Regions from separate parts of the Homo sapiens genome. Here all the other regions are linked to region 4. The links are contacts of gene promoters, found by promoter capture Hi-C in blood cells and fetal thymus (Javierre and others, 2016). All regions are on one chromosome and are shown on one strand. The core of a region is centred on a gene start or on the middle of the fragment in contact, and the rest is flanking DNA. Distances in the headings are between cores, read along the strand shown. Region 1 has its middle 42 kb from the start of SEC61B. Region 2 overlaps ALG2 (ALG2 alpha-1,3/1,6-mannosyltransferase). Region 3 holds the start of MRPL50 (mitochondrial ribosomal protein L50). Region 4 holds the start of TEX10 (testis expressed 10).

What was found. The method cuts DNA at HindIII sites, captures the fragments that hold promoters and counts their contacts. A CHiCAGO score of 5 or more calls a contact.
Region 1: a fragment that was not itself captured here is called in contact with the fragment with the promoter of TEX10 in region 4 in 1 of 17 cell types (fetal thymus); the score reaches 6.7 in fetal thymus.
Region 2: a contact is called between a fragment that was not itself captured here and the fragment with the promoter of TEX10 in region 4, in 9 of 17 cell types (fetal thymus, total CD4 T cells, non-activated CD4 T cells and 6 more). The highest score is 12.3, in fetal thymus.
Region 3: a contact is called between the fragment with the promoter of MRPL50 here and the fragment with the promoter of TEX10 in region 4, in 2 of 17 cell types (monocytes and fetal thymus). The highest score is 8.2, in monocytes.

Annotation. Positions count from the first base shown.
Region 1 is chr9:99,262,331-99,265,325 of GRCh38, reverse strand. No RefSeq gene overlaps it. Among named protein-coding and RNA genes, the nearest start is that of SEC61B, 42 kb to the right of the region's middle. RefSeq lists an enhancer at 1,871-2,010. The HindIII fragment of the contact is 8,980 bases long and covers 1-2,995 here.
Region 2 is chr9:99,218,891-99,221,699 of GRCh38, reverse strand. ALG2 (ALG2 alpha-1,3/1,6-mannosyltransferase) reads left to right here. Exons shown (of 2, transcript NM_033087.4): 1 at 1-153. Among named protein-coding and RNA genes, the nearest start is that of ALG2, 1.6 kb to the left of the region's middle. RefSeq lists a cis regulatory region at 2,753 and an enhancer at 2,669-2,809. The HindIII fragment of the contact is 1,077 bases long and covers 712-1,788 here.
Region 3 is chr9:101,397,259-101,400,018 of GRCh38, reverse strand. It overlaps MRPL50 (mitochondrial ribosomal protein L50), which reads left to right and starts at 1,401. Exons shown (of 2, transcript NM_019051.3): 1 at 1,401-1,518. The coding sequence starts at 1,427. ZNF189 (zinc finger protein 189) reads right to left here and starts at 1,168. Exons shown (of 3, transcript NM_003452.4): 1 at 830-1,168; 2 at 9-135. The coding sequence starts at 862. RefSeq lists enhancers at 1,168-1,697, 1,230-1,758, 1,759-2,288. The HindIII fragment of the contact is 1,128 bases long and covers 399-1,526 here.
Region 4 is chr9:100,351,221-100,354,193 of GRCh38, reverse strand. It overlaps TEX10 (testis expressed 10), which reads left to right and starts at 1,252. Exons shown (of 15, transcript NM_017746.4): 1 at 1,252-1,422. LOC105376177 (a long non-coding RNA gene) reads right to left here and starts at 1,144. Exons shown (of 4, transcript NR_188642.1): 1 at 613-1,144; 2 at 99-197. RefSeq lists enhancers at 925-1,559, 1,964-2,013 and a silencer at 1,074-1,623. The HindIII fragment of the contact is 13,255 bases long and covers 1-2,973 here.

The DNA.
Region 1 (2,995 bases), core at 132-2,631, 1.1 Mb after region 4:
ATTTGTTAGGTCATCCAGGAAGACGGCTGTCTGTTTATAAATTTCAGTCATAAGCAATGCTCGAAGAAGTCAGGATCCATAACACATAACCTTGTATTTCAGAGTAATTTGTTAGATTTTAGCTGGAAGCATGAGGAAGAGTCTGAGATGCTCGTGTCAGGCTAGAGACCAGGGAAATGGGCTAAAGGAAGAGAAGGCAGCTCAGCTTACCCTCAAATGCTGCCCAGAAAATGTGCTTTCATTCTGAGAAGACGTGCACGGCTGTCACAACCCTGAGAGCCATTAGAGCGTAGAGGTACCTACTGTCTTAAAATAATTCAATAACAAAGCACACAAAATGCTCACTATTCAAACATTTATACAGGGTCTGCTATGTGCAAAGCACTTGGAATATAAAAGTAAATCTAGAGCCGGGCACGGTGGCTCATGCCTGTAATCCCAGCACTTTGGGAGGCTGAGGCGGGCGGATCACCTGAGGTCAGGAGTTCCAGACCAGCCTGGCCAACATGGTGAAACCCTGTCTCTACTAAAAATACAAAAAATTAGCCGGGTGTGGTTGCAGGCGCCTGTAATCCCAGCTACTCTGGAGGCTGAGGCAGGAGAATCGCTTGAACCCAGGAGGCAGAGGTTGCAGTGAGCCGAGATCGTGCCACTGCACTCTGGCCTGGGCAACAAGAGTGAAACTCCATCTCAAAAACAAAAAGTAAATCTAAAAAGCAGATAGAGCTAAGAAGGTTATAGTCTAGAAGAGGCAATAAGACCTGAGTAGAAAATAACTGCAATCCAAGGTAGAAAATGCCTAGTGTTGTGAAAGAGGCACATGGGATTGTATGGCTTTCACAAGAGGAAGCACTGGAGGAAGGTTTTGCAGAGAAAATGACATCTAAGCTGGGCCTTTAGTAACACAAAAGACTTGCACCCCAAATGATGGAAGGGAATAACATCTCAGGGGAAAAAGTAGTGTGGGCAAAACTGCAGAGTTCCAAAAGCATGGGCTGAAGAATTGGAAGTACAAGTAGGTGGCGCCCCCTGTGACTGGAGCACAGGGAGTGTGGAGGGGGTGGGGCAGGATGTAAGATCAGAGAAGTAATTAATCATCCAGTAGTTGCACTCCTAGGTATATTACCAAGAGAATTGAAAACATACCTCCACATAAAAGACCGATACACCAATGCTTATAGCAGTTTCACTCATAATAGCCAAAATGTAGAAACAAACTACTGTCCATCAACTGACAAATGGATAAATGAAATGTGTTATATCTATACAATAAAATATTACTCAGCATTCAGTAATAGGAGGGAGTGAAGTATCAATACATGCTACCATGGATGAACCTTGGAACTGTTCCAAATGAAAGAAGACAGTTACCTAAAATGCATACTGTATGATTCCATTTATATGAAAGGTCCAGAATAGGGAAATCTATAGAGACAGAAAGTATCCTAGGGCCAGCAGGGAGACAACGGGATTAGGTGTTGATGGAAAAGGGTTTCTTTTGGGGATGGTGAAGGTGTTGATGGAAAAAGGTGTTGATGTTAAAGGGTTTCTTTTGGGGATGATGAAAATGTTCTATAATTGAGCATGGTGATGGTTGTACAATTCTGTGAATATACTAAAAACCATTTAATTGTACATTTTAAATAGGTGAATTGTATGGTATGTGAATTATATCACAATAAAGATATAACCCCAAAAATGGTCCTTCCCCAGAGGCAGCAATGAGAAGCACTGGAATAGACCACAGAGAACACTTAGTCTCACTCCCACGGTGCAGAAGGAAACATTAAGACCCAGAGAGGGGAAAGATTTCTCCAGGGTCTCACCACAGGTCAACAGCAGAGCTGCAACTAGAACACAAGACTCCGCCTGTGCCCTCAGTGTCCTTCCCACTGCACGGGACTATTCCCAACATTCTTCCACTCCTAGGACCACACCCTTCAAGCAGAATTCATGATCATGGCTGTCAGAGTCTACCTAGAGAAAGGGAAGTAGAAGCAGAATATTTGTGGTTCAGTCTCAGGATTGGAAGAAAGGTCATAACTGAGGCTTATATCCCCTTTTTAATATTTCCATCACACGGTCATCTAGCAAACCTTGAACAATCTTGATGATGGGAAACTTGGTACCTCCAAAACGTCTCTGAACAACTTTGTGGTGCACAGAACTGCATCTCCCTCCAGCTTCCTCCTGATGACGGGAGAGCGAAGGGCCACACTGTAGTCAGACTGTTGTGAGAGGCTTTACAATGAACCGCAGCTGCATTTGCATTGCTTTTTCTCACTTGATTAAGTGCTTCTAAGGCAGAGGCTGTGTTTTTGTGTTTTGTTTTGTTTTGAGATGGAGTCTCGCTCTGTCGCCCAGCCTGGAGTGCAGTGGTGCAATCTCGGCTCACTGCAACCTCCGCCTCCCAGGTTCAAGCAATTCTTCTGCCTCAGCCTCCCGAGTAGCTGGGACTACAGGCATGTGGCACCATGCCCAGCTAATTTTTGTATTTTTACTAGAGATGGGGTTTCACCATATTGGCCAGGCTGATCTCGAACTCCTAACCTCATGATCCACCCGCCTCAGCCTCCCAAAGTGCTGGGATTACAGGTGTGAGCCACCACGCCCGAACTTTTCTTTTTTTTGAGATGGAGTCTCGCTCTGTCACCCAGACTGGAGTACAGTGGCGTGATGATTTTGGCTCACTGCAACCTCCACCTCCCGGGTTCAAGCGATTCTCTTGCCTCAGCCTCCCAAGTAGCTGGGATTACAGGCATGCACCAATACGCCCAGCTAATTTTTGTATTTTTAGTGGAGACGAGATTTCACCATGTTGGCCAGACTGGTCTTGAACTCCCGACCTCAGGTGATCCACCTGCCTTGGCCTCTCAAAGTGCTGGGATTATAGGTGTGAGCCACTGTGCCCGGCCTGTGTTTGATTTTATATCTCTATCTCCTGAAATATGGCCAGACTCAGAGAAGGAAGTTCTAAACATTTGCTGAAGGAATT
Region 2 (2,809 bases), core at 1-2,500, 1.1 Mb after region 4:
CTACCGGTGCGCTGTGCCGGGGACTGGCTGCCGCGAGGCCTGGGCTGGGGCGGCCGCGGCGCCGCCGTCTGCGCCTACGTGCGCATGGTTTTCCTGGCGCTCTACGTGCTGTTCCTCGCCGACGAGGAGTTCGACGTGGTAGTGTGCGACCAGGTGAGGCGGCCGCGGGGCCGGCTGCGCGAGTGCGGACCTCGCCGTGGAGGGCGGCCGCGGGCATGACCCCTGAGAGAAGACCTTCCCTGTCTGCGGTTCGCAAAGATCGGAACTGACATGGAGAAGTCAGGGTTGTGAGCGAGCCTGTGGTTCTCTAACTTTAGTGTGGGCCCATTTAAAGTTGCAGATTGCTGGGGTTCCATCCTCCAGGAAGTTTTCATCCAGGTGCCCTGAGGTGGGGCCCAGACATCTGCATTTTAACTGGGTCATAGGGTGATTCCGAGGTAGATAGTCTTTGGGGCTCTGAGAAACGCTGGTATTAGAAGTCAGCTTCAGTCACCTTTTACTAATGAGTAACTCGCGTGTTGTCTTCCCGCTTACCTGTTATTTTTGTTGACTCTCCTTTCAGGCCATTTGCATCCCACTGTCCTTGTGTTCGGAGCCAGGCCACACCGTCCTCAGCAGTGTCATGTGTTAAAAACGCCAAGCTGAATATATCATGCCCCTATTAAAACTTGTACATGGCTCCCCATTGGTTTTTGGAGAAAAGTTCAAGCTTTTTACCTTGGTAAATAATGTCCACCTGGATCTGCCCTGTAGCTATTCTTGACTCTTTCCTTCGTGCATTTTTCCCCATCCTAAAAAAGATGACTTTAAAAAGTAACATTTACTCGATTAAAAATTTAGTAGTATAGAAGGATGTAACCTAAAAGCCCCGTCCTATTCTACTCCCTGAAGATAGCCACCGTTAAGTTTCTCTTGTATTTTTTCAGAAGTTGTGGTGACACCAGCCTGTGTCTTTTCATAGGTATATCTATATCTTCTTATTGGTACATAATTGGTATTATGACATACCTACTATTAGGCATCTTTTTCAGCAAAAATTTATTTATTTATTTATTTATTTTGAAACGGAGTCTTGCTCTGTCTCCCAGGCTGGAGTGCAGTGGCGCGATCTCGGCTCACTGCAACCTCCGCCTCCAGAGTAGCTGGGAGTACAGGTGCGCGCCCCACGCCCGGCTAATTTTTTCTATTTTTAGTAGAGATGGGGTTTCACCATGTTGGCCAGGCTGGTCTCGAACTCCTGACCTCGCGATCCGCCCACCTCGGCCTCCCAAAGTGCTGGGATTACAGGCATGAGCCACTGCGCCCAGCCGGGACATTCTTATGTATCAATATTAGAGATTCACTTCATTCTTCATAGTGGCCAGAAAATCCACTTTTGTTTAAGTGTGTCATAATTAAACATTCTCCTTAAAGGACACTAATGTTGTGACTAGTTTTTTGTGAATAGATCAGTGTTGTAATGAACATCCTTTTACTTCTTTTTTTTAAAATATTTTTGTACTTCTGCAAATATGTCGTTTGAGGAAATTCCTAAAGTTGGTGGGTCTAAGAGTTGTTCATTTTAAATATCAATAGCTACTGCCAAGTTTGCCTACCAAGGAGGCTGTGTCACTTTACTCCCCCACAATGTATGATAGAGCCTCTTACTCCATGCTTTTGTCCGCCTTGGATATTAACCATTTTAAACTTTGCCAAACTGATAGGTGCAGATGGCATCACATTTGTATTTGTGTTTCTTTAATTATGACTCCTGAGTTACTTTTGATCATCCTTGCTTGCATGGAAGCTTTCTTTTTAAGTAACGTGGACATTTACCAAACATCCTGCATGTGTCAGTAGACATGAGGCAGCTGAGACTATAGTGGGTAGAGGAAAAATTATTGGCTTGGAAATAGGCATCTTGGATTCAAGTTCCGTATCTACTGCTTTAATTAAGTGGCTTTGAATAAATTGCACATTATCCCTAAAGTTACCTTCTTCAGGTTTTAAGTTAGCTGAGACTAAAATGACTTGTAAAGATTACCCAACAAGAAAGTCTGTAGTAATGCCAGCATGTAGTTCATGCTCAATGATGACTAGCTTTAATATTTATTGAGCACATACTGTGTGCTAAACTCCATGTGTTTTGCATATATCAGTGCATTTAATAATCACAAAAAGTATATGGGTTTTTTGAACTATAATTTGTCACCATGTTACAGAAGAGGAAACTAAGGCCCAGAGTGGGATAAATTACTTGATCGTGGCCAGTTAGTAGAGCTGAGATTCAAACCCTGGCAGTCTTGAATCTAGAGCTTGTGCTCTAAACTACTATAGTTCATTCATTCAGTTCCTTAGAAGGAGAAAGATCCTAGAGCGGCACTGTTCAGTATGGTAGCCACTAGCCACATGTGGCTGTTGAGCACTTGAAATGTGGCTAGTCTAAACTGAGATGTGCTAAAGTTAAAATACAAACCGATTTTGAAGATGTAATGTGAAATATATGTATATATAAAGTATCTCATTAATACTGTTTAGTATTGGTTACATTTTGAAATGATAATGTTTTCGGTAAATAATATGTTAAAATTAATTTCACCCTTAAAAACATTTTTAATATTACTAGATTTCTATTAGACAGCACTATACAAGAGGAAATCACTGGACTTGAAGCTTTAAATGTTTAGCACACATCTAGCAAACGTCTGTAGCCTTCTGTACACCAGGCATATGGTACTGGGTGAGAGTCTTGGGGAATAAAACAGAATCAGACATTGCCCATGAGGAGCCCACAGACTAGCCAGACGGGGTGGGTGTCTGTGTTTTTGGT
Region 3 (2,760 bases), core at 152-2,651, 1.0 Mb before region 4:
ATTCTTACCCAGTGAGACCAGGTTTCCATAATTCTCCATCATGACATCTTTATACAGGCTTCTCTGAGCTGGGTCCAGATAATCCCACTCCTCCTGGGTAAAAAACACAGCCACATCCTCAAATGTCAGCAACCCCTGAAATAGTATGATTTCTGTAGTCAGTTCCTGTTGTCTCAAGGACAATTCTACCACTAAAAGTGACAGAGGCAATCACTTATTGTGGCCAAGTAGGCTAGGAGGAACATGATAACTGAAAGTTCCATATGTTGCCCAATTCTGGGAACGAACTGTAACTGACAGACATCTCAGACTAGAAAGGACCTACGGATAAGGCTTTTCTGATTTATTATGCCCTGAGAGTTTAATTTTAGTAAACTGCCCCAAGGCCTCTCCAAGCTTCCCTCACCTCATTGCCTACTTCAATTTTCCATTTGCACTGGCTTGTGACTCTATTCAATTCAATTCCTTGAGGTTCTCTAAGCGTGTACCTTGGGGTCCAGGCACTGTGCCAGGAACAGAAGACACAAGGGAAGGTCAAAAATGGTGCTTCACCTGGAGAACTCACAAATGAGAGAGCTAGTCTGGAGCATTACTTATTTTCTCAGGCCGATTTATCAAGTCTCTCTAGAAAAAGAAAAAAAAAAAGGGAGCCAGTGGGCAGTTTGTTCGCGAACCGCACCCCAATGCACTAGTGGGGAGTTCCTTGCAAGGCGCTGGCCCTAAAGAGGCGGTCAGGAGGTTGGTGGGGGGCCTGGGGGAGAAAGCAGTGGTGCGGCCTAGCTGGGGTAGCGGCGAGACAACCGGGATCCCCGGGGGGGTGCTTACTTACCTTCGACTCCGGCGGGGGGCTCGGGGAAGCCATCTCCCAGGCAGAGAATAGGGGCAGGAATTGGGGGCGGCCTCACGGAAAGGAGCCTCTGGTGAGGCCTACCCGGCTGCTGGAAATTAGGCTCGACGAATACGAGGATCCCTGGCTGGGTCTGGCCAGTGCCTGCCTCGGCCCCCAGACGGTCACGACCCCAACAGCATATCAGACGCGATCCCTGGCTGTCCCCCAACCCCGAACCCCAACCCCTACTCCTGCCTGGTTACGCAGCCTTTCAGGCCTCGCTAGAGCCTCCTCCCCGCTGCCAGTTCCTCCTCCTTGCAGCCAAGTAACGCTATGACCGCCCGCCCCCGGACCAGAAGGCGTCACCCAGATTCTTCCCGAGGCCCCCTCAACTACAACTCCCGTCATGCTCGGAAAGAGCGCCGCGGTCCAGACGCCGCCAGCAACAGCTACTGGACTACATTTCCCAGCGTGCAAAGGGCGAGGGAGCCTACAGGAAAAAGAAAGCTCTTGCCACTGGGATTGTATCCGATTGGCTGGTCTGGGCGCGTCACTGCTGGCTGAAGGCTGCGCTCAGGCCCGTGGATCTCATCGAAGATGGCGGCGCGATCTGTGTCGGGCATTACCAGAAGAGTCTTCATGTGGACAGTCTCAGGGACACCATGTAGAGAATTTTGGTCTCGATTCAGGTAAAGCTTTATGGTGGACGGTGGGTCATGTTCAAGGAAAGTTAAGGAGGATTAGGGACGAATTCAAAATAGAGTGTTACGCCATCGTGGTCCCGCGCCTGATCAGAGCAAGGACAAGGAGGTCCGGTTAGGGTCCCGAGTTGAGAAGCACTCATTGAGTGGTGGGACCCAGTCTCTTCCACTCTCGGCCTTAGTTTTCTCATTTTATAACGGAAATACCACCCCCTTTCCTTTTCACTTCACTCATTCATTTATTTATTAAGCAAGCAGGATTAACCTCGTGTGCGAGACACCGAGTGTGTTGTCTGCAAACACATGAAAGCGCTTGGTAAACTAAACTCATTTGCCGGCTGTGTTTCTTCACAAGCAAGGTTCAGTAATGAAGTACTGCCTCCTCCTTTTGTTTGTTCATTCATTCAGTCATTCAACAGATTTCTTAGGGCCAGCATTACTCTAAGCGCCTAGGATACAGCAGGAAAAACAAAATCCATTCTCATCCTCGAGGTACTCCAACATATGAGGAAACAGGCCCACAGGAGGGAAGTGATTTTCCCAAAGTCACAAAGCAAGTTAATTGCAAAGCTGGATCTAGAACATATGTCTCCTAACTCCCCATCTACTGCTTTTTCTGCTGCACGGCTGCACCATGTGTAATTGTTTGAAGGTAAATCTAATTTGACTTAGATAGTGTTTAGGAAATCAAAACGTATGGTAGGAACCCTAGGGAGCAATGTATGCTCTCTTAGGTTTAAAACAAAAACCACTACAATTAGGAAAGATCTTTTTCATCAGTTCAGATATTAGCTTTCCCTCTTCTTTGGTCAATATTTGTTATTATCTCTCAAATCTCTTCCAAGTTTGTTTTATTCATTCACTCAACAAATATTTTTTAGGCTGTTTACTATATGCCAGGCTATATCTTAGGTGTTGTAAGAATACAGTGGTTACTAAAACAGACCAAATTTTTGTTCTCGTAGGGCATATGTTCTAATGGAGGAAGAAATGAACAAATGTGTAATGTAATTTCAGAAAGTGGTAAATTATGAAGAAAACTAGAGGAAATAGATTACTGAGAATGATGATTATATTTTCTTTACTATTTTAAAAATTTTATATATTTAAGATATACAACTTGATGTTGATTATTAGTCAAGATAATTATCATATTCATCTCTTCACATACTTTCTGTTTTGTTTTGTTTTAGAGAAAGGAGTTCTCACTATGTTGCACAGGCTGGTCTT
Region 4 (2,973 bases), core at 3-2,502:
AGTCAATCTCCAGATGGATTAGATGTGAGGTGTGGAACAAAGAGGCCAAACCAAAAACCCAAAGGTTTCTGCTTGAGTAACTGCAAGGACAGACTTACTATTTGAGATGAATAAGCTGTAGGAAGAGTAGATTTCAAGGGGAAAATCATCAGTAGCTCTGTTTTGGACAAGTTGACCTTGAGATGTATACTGGATATCTGAAGGAAACATTGAAAAAACTGTTGGATACAAGTTTGGAGTTCCAGGGACTTGTCTGGTTGGCAATAAATCTTTCCTCTTCTGATCTAGTCTCATAGCTTTAAACAGAATATAATGCCACATAATGCCAATGACTCCCAAATATTTATGGTTATGGTCGATTCCAGGCAGATTGTGGTGATGTGGCCATATTGCCAGCAAAGGGAGGTCAGGGTTTCTAGCGCTGCCTCTTTATCTCCGATTATGGAACAGGCATGGTTTTAGTTCCAGTGCTTGGGTCTCCCTGGATTTAGACATCATTCCTTTGAATTCCCACCCAATATAATGAGGGTCAATATCTTCGCTAGCTTTACTAAGTCTTAATTATCTGGTGAGGTGTAGACACAAATTTGAATCAAGGTCTGAAGTCCTTACCTGGGGCTCTTTCTTCCATGCCATCATGCCAGTCTTTGTGAAGACATTTTTCAAAGGCTCATTCTTCTTACCTCTTTTCTAGGAATTTTAGTTTATTTCTTTACTTAACTTCAGAAATTAATTTCTCACTTCATTTTAGTAGCAGGAATGTTAGTGCTGAGAAACTGAGATGTTAGGGAGAATCCTTGACCAAGACTTCCAGGCTCTAGATACTAGGTGTGTCTTGCTCTAATTAAGGAAATCTTATCTGCTCCATCTTAGCCCAGTTTAACGTCCCCAGGAATTCCATCTTCTGCAGTCCTAAACTTTTCCCTTTTTCAATTCAGTGCAACTTATACTCTTCTCTGAAAGTGGCTCCAGGTCTGAAGAACTGTGGTCTGGGAGGAATAGAAAAGCATGCTCAGCTATAACCAGGCCCACATCCCCTAAGTTGCCTGCCCACCAAGTTACGGGCCGGACTTATGCGCCACGCTTTGTCCGGGGACCTCGCGCTGTCCTCCCTCCGGTTCCCACAGAGCAGGGGGCTTCCGGCGGGGTACCCTCCTCTGTGGGCGGGGCCTACCGCTCCCGCTCCCGCCTCCCCGGTTGCGCGCGGCTGCGGGCTGCGATCACGTGAGCACAGCAGGGAGGGGGAGGGGCCCTGATTTCCGGGCGGCGGAAGGAGACGCGGCCGCGTGAGGACGAGGCTATTTGAAAACACGCTCCGGGAGCTAGAGCCTGAGGTCGGCGGCGCACGCTGTTGCCCCGTGGGCTTCTGCTCCCTCGCTTGTCTTCTCGGGCTTCTCGCCCCGGCCGCGGCCGGGTCCTCAGGTAAGCGGCCGTCGCCCGTCGGGCCGGGTCCTCCCGGGGCGCGGGACTGAGCGTGGTGGGGCCGTCGCCCCCCGATCCGCGGCCCAAGCGGGCAGGGTCGGCCGTGCACGATTTGCGTCCCCCGGGTCTGGGCCGCGGCGTCCCTCCGAGCTGGGCCTGGGTGTGCGGCCGGCACTGCGGGGGCGGGACCCCCTAGGGCGTTTGCGGAGCTTCAGGTGACTGGGCGGGTTCGCCTGGTTTCGGGTCCGAGAGAGTTTTAGCCCGGAGTGTGTGAATCGGGCCCCACTTCCCCGACTCTGGTCCTGGCCGGCGTCCCTTGGAGTAGGAGGAACGATGGTTTCCTAAAACCCATGGTGTGTTCGCCTCTGGGATGGATGCAGGACCGAATACGGAGTGGGGATGAGCTGGCGTCCCCTGTTCCGTCCTCTGGTCGCCCAGGCGGGAGAGTTAAGCGAGCGGAAGGGGACTACCAGTTTTCTGGGGTCGCCCCTGCCTGGGCCATTTGCTTTTTGGGAAGTCTGTCGCCTCTGGTTGGCCCCTCAGTGGAGTTTGGAGGAACTCATGAGTTTAAGGGTTTGGGGAGGAAATTATCAAAGGCCGAGTGCAGTACGATCGTTCTCTCTGATTTTTTTTGGAAAAGAAGGTGGAAATGAGGAAGGGTAAGAAGGTGGCAGGCAAACTATTTATAGTTGGAATTTAGTTCGATTGAAATCCTAAAAACGCTAGGATCTGCCTTTTGTTGGAATTAGAAAAGACCTACAGTAGGAATGTGTGACATTCAGCTTTGAAACTATTGGGGATCGCAAACCTAAGGACTAGTGATGTGAGCTCCTCCTCTGAGACTGGCGTTCCTACCTTTTGCTAAAAACCGGCTACTGTAAAAGTGGCTTAGTGGGACTTTTTGATTTGCTGTGTTATGAAAATCTTTGTTATAAGTTAAAGTCAATTACTAGTAGAACTTTGAGAGTTCTTCGCATGAAAATGCTTTGTATCCCGTAATAATATTACTAGGTTTGAAAAGTCAAGGAAGGTCAATCAGCCTTCTTAATTTTCCTAACAGAGAAAGCATTAATGTGACTAATACAAAGCGATAGATAATATGGCATGAAGTTGACAGTAGACTGTTGAAGATCTATCAGGTGGTTAATGGCTAAATAGAACCCACAGGAGTGGAGGAGGAAGGGAGTTAATTTTTCTGAATGTCCTGTACCATTTACTTTCGTGTCTAGTACCAGCTAGTAATAAAATTGTAGGAAAAGCTCACAAAGTGTGCTTGCTTAATTAATGAAAACCATTTTTGTATTAAAAGAGGCCAGGTGAGTATCATGGCCTTCTTTTTAGGCCTTATTCCCTCCCACCCACCCACCCACCGACCCCCAGCTTTTTTTTTTGTTTTGTTTTGTTTTTTAAGACTAAGGTAACTAGAGGTGTGGGTGAGATGAAAATTTGGTAATAGGGACAAATGAAATAAGCCAAACTGTTTTGCCACGAAGACTTCCAGTCTTCAGGTTAATTCTGGTATGTTAAAGGTGGTTTTGCAGAGCTCAGTTC